3 separate regions of the Homo sapiens genome follow, and all the other regions are linked to region 2. The links are contacts of gene promoters, found by promoter capture Hi-C in blood cells and fetal thymus (Javierre and others, 2016). All regions are on one chromosome and are shown on one strand. Each heading gives the region's core, a stretch centred on a gene start or on the middle of the fragment in contact. The rest is flanking DNA. Distances are from core to core; before and after follow the strand shown. Region 1 has its middle 5.4 kb from the start of KCNA3. Region 2 holds the start of LRIF1 (ligand dependent nuclear receptor interacting factor 1). Region 3 has its middle 12 kb from the start of KCNA2.

Region 1 (3,455 bases), core at 791-3,290, 290 kb before region 2:
ATCATTAAAAATCAAGACAAACATCTGAAAGTTTTCTAACCAGTCTGAATCATTTAAATTATACTTGCAAACTGAATATGAGTACATAAAGAATACTATTATCATATGCTATATAGCAATGGCCATTTTCTGGCAGAAAGCTAAGAGCTGAGTCACAATAGTAAGGTCTGGGCTCTGATTGGCTTCTACTCCCTTTTTCCTGCCTCCTTTGATGTACTTTCTCTCAAAGGTTATCAACCACTTCCTAAAGGTATATAAAAACAAGTGATTTCATTAATATATATAGAATTGCCCCCAAACCCATACGGAATAGTACAAAAACCAATAATTGTATCCTCCTTAGTTTAAAAGGCCTAAAACAAAACACAAAGAAAAAGCTCCCACTGTAAAAATGCAGCCCTAAATATCCTCTTCCACATTCTTATGCTCCTCACCTCTATCTCACAGTGTTTCCATAAGTCTTCAGATTATGGGGCACGTGTGCTTCTTTGCATTTCTTAGTGGGAAGGGTTATCACTTCTATTCACAGCTGAGAGGTGGGAAGGACTTGGAACTGCTGTAGAAAATGTTGAAATTTTAAATGTATAGAAGTCAATAAGTTATAGTTATGGTACTCAAAGGAACAGACTACTAGTATATATTATATACATTGTCTTTATATACTATAGCAAAACAAATACTTGAGTATATTATACGCCAAAAAGGTAAATAACAAGTTTTATGCCAACAAACCATAACTTTAAATGTCTTCATACTGTGCATTTAAATTTCAATACTGAAATTTTATTTCAAAGTTTAGAAATAACTGACATAATGCTTCCTCCTATGCGTAGGTGTCTGTGGTTATGTCACCACAGTTGGTGTATCATGTCATTTTAAAACATCATAAAAGAAATAAAACAATAACAATGTTAACTTCCATGTTTCTATCTGGATTCATCAGCTGTAAGGCATATACATTTTTCCCCAGGGTGTTGATGGGTGTGCACTGATCCAGTCACACCTCCTCACATGAATCTCTTGCTATACACAGACATCCGTATATTTCTTCAACACATAAGACGTGCAACTGAGCTCAACAGTGAAGGTTGTAGTTTGGCAAAGCCAGCTGGCATGTGCAAACGTAGGCTCATTAGAATTTTGCTCTAAGCCCAAATCATTATCCATTTTCATTTCATAAATGATTTAAGAACTGAGAGAAGGGTCTGCAGCTATTATGTAGGAAAAATTTTATTTTAATTTCTTTAGAGCACAGATGCCCTTAAAGATCCATGGAGTGGTTAGGTAAGGCAATAATGTCACAAGTTTCAGTGAACTGGCAATCTCATTCTGCTTTTAATACTTCTGTTCTGAATAATTTCTTCCCTCTTAATAAGGGAGAGTCAAAATATTTACATGACTTTCTGGTATGGTTCTTCAGTAAATGAAGCAAAGCATAAGGAGATAGAAAACTAATTTGCATAATGCTATCATCTATTGTTGATTAAAACACATGAAAACAGAAAAATCTTGAAACTGAAAAATATCCATTGTCATAGCAGTTATCACTAAACACTACTATGACTGGTTATACTTTCTAAGATTAAATCTAGATAAACCAACTATAAGAAAATAATCTTTTGTTATTAGAAAAGTCAATCTCTTCATCTTATTTAAATAACTTATATTTGATGCTTATATTTGGTTAAAATACCTGCTTATTTTAAGCAGGTTAATTTTCAGTATACTGAAATGAAATAGGTTTCTGGAGATATGTTATCTACATGAACTCATTAATTAGTGACATAGGCTGAAGCCAAGTCTAAAAGCATAAGAGATTTGTCTTTCAAGTCACCTAATAAAAGTAGCATGGGTTTCAGAGCCAGAATAACCTGGCTTTAAATCATAACTGAGTCTCCTGCTAGCTGTGAAGTCTTAGGGAAATCACTTAACTTTAAGCATCTATTTTATGCCCTCCTAAAATGAGGTTAATAGCACTTACCTTGCGGAGTTGACAAGTGTCCAGGACATGGTTGACTCTTAATAAATGGTAATTATTATTCTTATAATAGAAAGGAAATAGGAAGACACTGATTACTTGTGTATTTCATATTCACAAAACATTGTATTAATTATACAGTGCTTGTGAGTGATGATCACAATATAATCTCTTAGCAAAATCTCTGATGCCGTGTCATGGAATTATTTTTTCTAAGTGTTCTACCTGTATTAACATTTACTATTCACAATAAACCTGTGAGGTACTGTTTATCACCCTCATTTTACAAACAAAGAAACTGAGGCACAGAGAGGTTAAGTAATTTGTTCAAGATCATATACCAGAGTCAGGACTCAAATCCTGGAAATATGACTGCAGAGCTTATGCTTTTAACCACTTTATTAAAAGCCTGGAAATAACATTTATGTAAGATAACAGCCATTCACTCAACAAATATAAAAGGTGCCACATTCTGTGCTAGGCACTAGTACCTAAAACCTTCAAGACACAGAGCTTATATCCTTTAGGGAACTTACAATGTGGTGACTACAAGCAATCATATTACCTCAAAGTTATGAGTCAAAAGCCAGGATATTTCTCTGGATTAAAGAACAAAGGCCCCCTTTAAATTACTGCCATTTAATAACCATAAGAATTATGGCACAACCATAATTTACTTATAGAACTAATCAAGGTTTCTACATCTCCTGAATAAATGTGAATAAAATTGTCATTGCACTTCCTCCATCTCTATGTTAAGAACAGATACAAAAATTATTTTAATGTAATTGTTACAATGTATCTAACATATTATCAAAATGTGTCATAAAAATAATTTCTGGTCATTAAGGGTACCAAACGTTTGGTCAAGAGGTAGATCAATGTCAAAGGTTAACTCAAACAAAAAGCAAAGAAAACTAGATAATGAAGTCCTACTTAGATATACATAGATAAAAACAAATATATGATAAAAAACAAACAACAAATCTATGACCAGGTATATTTAGATTTCTTGCCTCTATTTGTTTGGTCTTTTCCTTCCTCAGCTCTCTCTTATAGTCTCAATCACTATTTTCCTCTCTCTTCAATGCATGCATTATAAATGTACTCCTAACTGAAAATACTTCATGGGCTTTAAAAATAGGGTTACTCTCATTTACTCTGGAAGGATAGAATAGTTATATGCTATTAAAACCAAAAAACAACTGTAGATAATGTATAATTTATATAATGTATATGAAACAGAATGATTATGTTTAAATAAAATGTTACTCTTATTTTTAACCCTTTTTTGTTTCAAAGAACTGTACCACTGCATACTATTAAATAATTATGTAAATTAAAATTGGACCAATAATCTAACAGCAGTAGATTCTGCCATTTATCCTTTTTAAAGGGAAACAGGTTGCTTGGAGGCCAAGTGGGTTAGTAAAAGGAACGGAATAATTTTCAGTTTGGCTTGAGTGAAGGTTATTCT
Region 2 (3,388 bases), core at 116-2,615:
AATAGTAATAGTTAACATTTAAATTGTGCTTTACTATTTTCCTACACGACGTATTTTACATTATTTCATTCTCCTAATCTTTAAAATATTTCTAAGTGCTATTATTTACAGACTGGAAACAGGTACCTGGCCTCACAAATGCTAACTAGCAAAGTTGAGATTAACCCCAGGTAGCTTGATTTTCTTCAAACGAAAATCCTCTTCCATGAGTTTTGCATCTTAGTTCTTCATTTTCTTATTAGAGTCTGCAGACCCTATTTTTTCCTCATCACTTAATCTACTAACCATGTGAGAGTACAAGTGAAAATATTCTGCTTTAGCTAACATTGTTTCCAATTCATTTCCTTGTAATACAATTTAAAAAAAAAAACCCAAAAACTAAGTTACTGATCATCTATTTTCTAACTTTACAAGAATATCTTCCTTAGAAATACTGGACTCTCCTCATGCCAAATATAAATAGCCAATGAAATGGCACTTCATTACACCCTACTTCAAAAAGGCTGTTCAAAAGGACTGACTTTACACGAGGATTTCTCCAGTCTTACTTCTCTCTCTTCACATAAAACTATTACTTGAAATTTTAAATATTCGATCTCCTCATTCTAAAGCCCTTTTTCTTCAATCACACACCCTTTCTGTCTCACTATTAAAATCTATTTTCACTGAAGGTCCAGCGCCACCAGGGCTGCACTTGCTAATCCGTGCTGACTGCTGCGTTTCTGCGTGTGCGTGAGAATCTTCCAGAAGGTTTGAGTCACATAAGAGCGTCGGCCATCTTGGTTTTCATCTCCCGTGGAGATCTACTCGGTCCGCCTATTAAACTTGAGACGCTGGGGTCCCGCGGAGCCGCTGTGTCAGGCTCTAAAGAGGTTTTACATTTCCCAGAGGAAAGCGCTCTATGGGCTTTAAGCGCCGCGGAGACAAGCGCTTCCCGCCTGGGTGGCGCACTCTGCGGGCTCCAACTCCTCTCAACTACACAGCGTCCGGAAACGACGGCCGACTCCACATCCCTAAGACGGACAGAGGGGCAGCCGTGGGGAGGATTCGAAACCGGTACTTACCAACGCGAGGCGTTGCCTGAATTTTCCTCTGCGGGTTTCAGGAAGACCCTCCGTAGGTTATTTGACATTTTAGTGGGGAGAAAGGGGACACCTCATCCAGAAAAGTGGGAAGCGTGGGGCCGAGTTTCCCAATGGGGCGAGAACCAGAGCGAGGGAATGTTGGGCTGGAGTTGCCCACAGCAACTGTGAGGGGTTCGACCTTAACGGAGGGCGACAGCGGGCTCTCGAGAGGGTGTATCCCCAGGCTTCGGGACGAGGTCGCGCACCGCGCAGAAACCGGAAGGCTCCTGGCGGTGGACTGCGCCCTCACAGCCCTACGCTGAGAGAGAATCGGCGTGAGTCTCCGCCCTCAGAGCCTACGACAACTCTCCAGACTCCGCCGGAGCAGGCGCAGGGGGCGTGGCCTTGGTGGCACCACCCCCAACAGAGCCTGGTCAGTGCTGAAGACTGCGTCAGTCTGGCTCTGCCGCCCCGCCCACTGAAGCCGATAGCTGGAGCAAAGCTCGGTCGGGCGTCTTCCGGGGTCGTCACGTCCGGTTGCCAAGGTGACTGGCTCGCTAAAGCCCAACCCTTATGATGCAATCCAATGGCAAGTGATATTTGCTATCTTTTCTTCCGGATCAAGGAACAAATCGCAAAAGAAAGCTCTCCCGACACCTACGCAAAATAAAATGTTTCCGGGGTCAATCATAAATTTTCTGCTTCTGTGCTCGCCGCTAGCGTACGTTTTTCTCTCCCGTCAGTGCATTAAAAGACATCGGCGCGCTTTTTTGGAGTCATGCACTTCTGGCCTGAGAAAACTTAAAACGCCTGCCTGTGGCCAGCGATTATTGTTGCTGCTTCTCTGAAGGTTTCCCATTTACTCCTCTTTCCTGAAGCTTTGCCTCTAGACTTACTTAACTCTTTCCTCCAGCCTACGTTCATCGAAACTATCACTTATTGTCATATAGACCTTTATTTCTGAAGGGAGATCTGGGAGTTGCATCAGAACATCCATTGTATTCATTAAATCATTTATTCAGCTGTCCATTGCAGTTGATGCTCTTTATCTCACACTATTTGAGAATTTTTCCTCGCAGCACTATTAATTAGTCCCTCATCTTGACGCCATTGGCAATATACTTTCCTGGTTTTGCTCCTACCTTTTTGTCTACACCTTCTCAATCTCTTTTGAAGATATCTCCCTTTTCAAGGGAGTTCCTTTCAGCTTGATCACTGATTCTCTTATGTTTTCAAACTGTCTTGTCTCGATTCGTGGTTTTATTCATGCTCCTGGATTGAATTACCACCTCCACCCATTATTTTACCACCAAACACATGTATGTCCTTGGCACTGATTTAAGTGTTTTACAAAATTAATTTACTCCTAACAGCTAATAAAATAATTATTATATGCAGATGAAGTAACTGATGCTCAGAGAGGGTGAACAAATTTTTAGAGGTCATAGAGCTTGTGAGTGATGGAGCCAGGCTCCAAATCCAGGTTGTCTGGCTAAACACACCATGTACTACTGCATTATGCTGCCGTGTGACTCATAAATTTATGTTCCCAGTTCTGATTTCTCTGAGATCTATACCTGGATGTTCAAGTGAATTGTTGAGATATCCTTTTTGCTATTTTAAAAGCCCCTTCAAATGAAACATGTTCAAAACCACACTTATGACTTGCTTCTCTTCCCCCCACTACACGTTTTCTTTTATCAGTGCTATCTCAGAAAGAAAGAAAGAAATAACTTCCTTCCATTAAAGTTGCCTAAATCCCAGTGTCATCCTTAACACTTTCCTTTTTTTATTCCAAAATATACAATTCACCAACTTTTGCAGATTTTATCTTCTAAATATCTTACAAGTCTGCTTTATATTTCTATTACTACTACTGTAGAGCAAGCTTACTTGGTCTAGTAAAGCTTTAACGGATACCCTCATATCCACTCCTTTTTTATTTATTTATTTTTTTAGAGGGAGTCTCACTCTGTCACCCAGGCTGGAGTGCAGTGGGCAATCTCAGCTCACTGCAAGCTCCGCCTCCTGGGTTCACGCCATTCTCCTGCCTCAGCCTCCTGAGTAGCTGGGACTACAGGCGCCCGCCACCACACCCAGCTAATTTTTTGTATTTTAATTAGAGATGGGGTTTCACTGTGTTAGCCAGGATGGACTCGATCTCCTGACCTCCTGATCTCCCCGCCTCAGCCTCCCAAAGTGATGGGATTACAGGCGTGAGCCTCATATCCACTCTTGTATTCCTGTAAATGCTGCAGCCAGAGATACCATATGGAAACACAAATCTGATGGTGTCATCTCACTGCATTAAAAAAAAAAATCAG
Region 3 (3,531 bases), core at 203-2,702, 350 kb before region 2:
GTCTTTACGGAGGAGCAGAATGTCCAAAGACCCCGAAAGAGGTGTTGAAGTGAAGCTTGGGCATTCTTCATGGGCAATCTGCATGCCTCACTGCCTGCTTCATTCATTCACTCCCTGGAGAAGGGCTCTCTGCAACAGCCTATCTCACACTGTGTGAGGAGGGATTTTGAGGATTTTGTTCTCTCCTGTACCCCCAGTGCCTGGAGCACACTGGGAGCTTAATACATATTTGTGAGCTAAATACCCAAATGGGTGAGTGGATTCCAGGAAAAAGGCACAACAGGGACAGACCAGAGAAGCAGCCTCACCTGTGCCAGGGACTCTGCGCCAGATGGAGTGCCAGGAGCGAGCAGTGTGGGAGGACATGGTAAAATGAGAGGTCGATGGGGGAAGACTGAGAAAGGCCTTGAAGTCATGCTGAGGAGTTCAGGTTGTCCTGTAGGTGATAGGGAGCCATTGAGAGTTCTGAGTGGGAGAGACAGGATCCAATCTATGTTTCAGAAAGATAACTTGGGAAATGTGGAGTATAGTGGAAAGGATGGGTCTAAGAGCAGAGGCAGGAAACTGGTAAGGAGGAGGTTGCTTCCCCTCAGAGATGTCAAGGGTCTGGACTCAGGCCATTTGTTCAATAGGTGAACGGTAGAAGGGATGAAGGCAGTGATGAAGAGAAAAGCACCAAAAGGGAGACATTACAGGGAGTGTAGGATTCAGTGATCAGCGAGATGGGAGAGGGAGAGAGAGTGTGGAGGGGCCGCCACAGGGCTTCAGAGAGGTGGTGTGCGAAGTGCATGTGCACCTGTGTGTGTGCACTCATGCATGTGTCGAGGGATGGAGCTCACATGGTGGGCAGTTCTGACATACATGGGGGTTTGTGGGGCTGCTCTGATGGGCCTGTTCCTTGTCAACAGGGCAGATGGCAATGCTGGCCTGATGCTCAGGAGAGAGGTAGAGGGTAGGGAATGGAGAGTTGAAAGTCATCATCATGGAGGGGTCATTGAAGCCAAGGGTGAGAATGAGATCCCCCAGGATGAGAATGTAGATGGAGTGAGAAGAGCAGAGAGGGCCTGGGTGCGGCGGCTCATGCCTGTAATCCCAGCATTTTGGGAGGCCAAAGCAGGAGGATTGCTTGAGGCCAGGAGTTTGAAACCAGCTTGTGCAACATAGTGAGACCCTGTCTCTACAAAAAATAATTTAAAAAAATTATCTGGGCATGATGGCACCCACCTGTAGTCTTAGCTACTTGGGAGCCTGAGGTGGGAGGATCACTTGAGTCCAAGAGTTCGAGGTTACAGTGAGGTATGATCGTGCCACTGCACTCCTGGCTGACATGTGAGTGACCTGTCAGTGTGTGAGAAAAGGCATTTTATCCTCTTTTAATTCCTCTCTGGAGAGTGGAGCCTAGAACCCTGACTGCCTCTGACCTTGCCGTCCAGTTAGGGTGTGGCCCTGGAATGTGGCTGCCTTCCCTCAGTTCTTTCCCTGTGGAATTGCTGCTCTGTGTGGGCTTCCTTTCCTTTCGGAGGTAGGATGAGGCAGCTTGGGTGGCCCTCAGATGGGAAAAAGACCCAGGAGAGCCACGAAAGGAACATAAGGAGAGGATGGAGAGGGTAGAGAGCCCTGCTCAGGTGCACCGAACATCATGACTTAGAGTCTAATTGGCAGCTCAAACATGGCACATCCCAAACCAAATTCTTGCTTCCTTCCCATGCCCCCACACCTGAACCCCCATCCCTCTGAGTAGCACCACTCCTCCCTCATCCAGTTGCTCAGGCCCAAACCCCGGGACACAGCCTTTGGCTAATCCAACAGGGATTCCTATGGCCTCTGCCTTCAGACCATCTTCTGAACCAGATGTCTTATCTCTTCCGGCAGGCGAAGCAAACCTGGCCCCAGATGCTCTACTCTCACCTGGGCTCCTCACAGGCCTCCCTGTTCCTATTCATGCCCTCGCAGAAGCCAGAGTGATTTTATAAACAACATAAATCGAGTTGTTTTATGCCTTTGTTCAAAGTCCAGTAGTTGTTCACTACTCTCAGAACTAAGCCTGAAGTCCTATGGCCCAGAAGGCTCTGTACCGTCTGTCCCCTGGACACCTTTCTGACTTCATTTCCAACCACCCTCTGCAGCTGCCTCCTTCCTGGTCTCCACACCCAAAGAATGCATCCCTGTGGCCTGGCTGTCCCCACTCCCTGGGAGACTGTACCCCCAAACATGCTCATGACTTGCTCTGCTTACACATTACTTTATGTAATTCCTTTATGGGGCCTCTGCTTACACATTACTTCCTAGGAGATGCCTGGCACACACTAGGAAAACGAATGAATGCATGTATGATAATACCGGTTTTAACCTTGTGCCTGGCACATAGGAAGTTCTTACAAGGTCTCCTGTCTCGGCTATGAAATCTGCTCCCACTCCCAAGGGTATGGCTGGTTCTTTGTAAAGGAGGCCCCTCCTACACATACAAGGTGGAAATCAGCTCTGCAGAAAAGACAGACGCACGAGCTGCCACTGGCCGCCAGGGGGCGCCACATGCAGCGGTATCTGCACACTGTGGCTCGGGCGGCAATGCGGCAATCTGGGAGGGCTGCGGCCGTCAACGCCCACGCAGCAGGGAGAGACCGGGAGTGGACAGCCACAGGCAGGGCTTCTTAACCAGCCGCGCCTGGCTCCCTGCGCATCCCGTATCCCGGGTCCTAAGAGATAAAAGGTCAGGGGAGATTTTGAGGGTTTGATATTTTTCGCCACCTATTTGTTAAGCCCTTAAACCCCAGCACTTTCAGTCACCTGAGGTCACCTCTCTGACAACACCTCCCCTTCCGCATTCTAAAAATACAAAACCCAGAAACAGAAGCTTTAGTGTGGTTAAGTAACATACACTCTCTGCCTGACAAACTCCTCAGCCCTCCCCTGGACAGCTCCCAGTCTCTCCAAGCCGACTTAACGTCCTAGGAGACCACCTCTCCCTGTTCACGTGCCCTGTAGCAAATGCTGCTGTGAACTGCGATTGTGTGAGCTTCCTGAGAGCAGCTTAATGAGAGAGAGAGAGCGAGAGCGAGAGAGAGAGAGAGAGAGAGAGAGAGAGAGAGAGTGAGTGAGAGAGAGAGAGAGAAATTTGGTGGGTAAGACTTCTCAGCCCCCAGACCAAATTGGATATCCCTAACATACCCCTGTCCTCACACATCCCGGCCTCTCCTTTCAGACCCTCTCTTCTCCTTTCCCTCTGTGTGAACCATGTCAGGCAGGTTAGCCTTGGAGGCTCTCAGTGTAGACAGTGTCTTAGAGATCCCCTCACTCTTCTTGGGTGCACCCGGCAAACACGGGTTCCAGGAACTCACTGATCACCGCCCCATCCACAGCCCAGGTCTTCCTGTTGTTTTGTGGTCTACTGTGATTGGTGGGAACGTCTGCCCACCGTAGCCAGCAAACTCTGTCTCCCAGGCATGGCTGCCCATCGTCTCACCTGTCTTTCCCATTGCGCCTTCTCGGAGGTGAAGGCTGTGCTGTTAAGAACCCCACTTGGCAGAAGGC

What was found. Contacts are between HindIII fragments. The CHiCAGO score rates a contact against its expected background, and 5 or more counts as called.
Region 1: a contact is called between a fragment that was not itself captured here and the fragment with the promoter of LRIF1 in region 2, in 1 of 17 cell types (naive CD4 T cells). The highest score is 5.9, in naive CD4 T cells.
Region 3: a contact is called between a fragment that was not itself captured here and the fragment with the promoter of LRIF1 in region 2, in 9 of 17 cell types (naive CD8 T cells, naive CD4 T cells, activated CD4 T cells and 6 more). The highest score is 9.9, in naive CD8 T cells.

What each region holds. Positions count from the first base shown.
Region 1 is chr1:110,667,789-110,671,243 of GRCh38, forward strand. It overlaps a transcript of KCNA3 not described here. Among named protein-coding and RNA genes, the nearest start is that of KCNA3, 5.4 kb to the right of the region's middle. The HindIII fragment of the contact is 4,893 bases long and covers 1-3,455 here.
Region 2 is chr1:110,962,557-110,965,944 of GRCh38, forward strand. It overlaps LRIF1 (ligand dependent nuclear receptor interacting factor 1), which reads right to left and starts at 1,366. Exons shown (of 4, transcript NM_018372.4): 1 at 1,065-1,366. The coding sequence starts at 1,132. RefSeq lists enhancers at 954-1,490, 1,025-1,234. The HindIII fragment of the contact is 2,635 bases long and covers 1-1,940 here.
Region 3 is chr1:110,616,998-110,620,528 of GRCh38, forward strand. It overlaps a transcript of KCNA2 not described here. Among named protein-coding and RNA genes, the nearest start is that of KCNA2, 12 kb to the left of the region's middle. The HindIII fragment of the contact is 2,799 bases long and covers 54-2,852 here.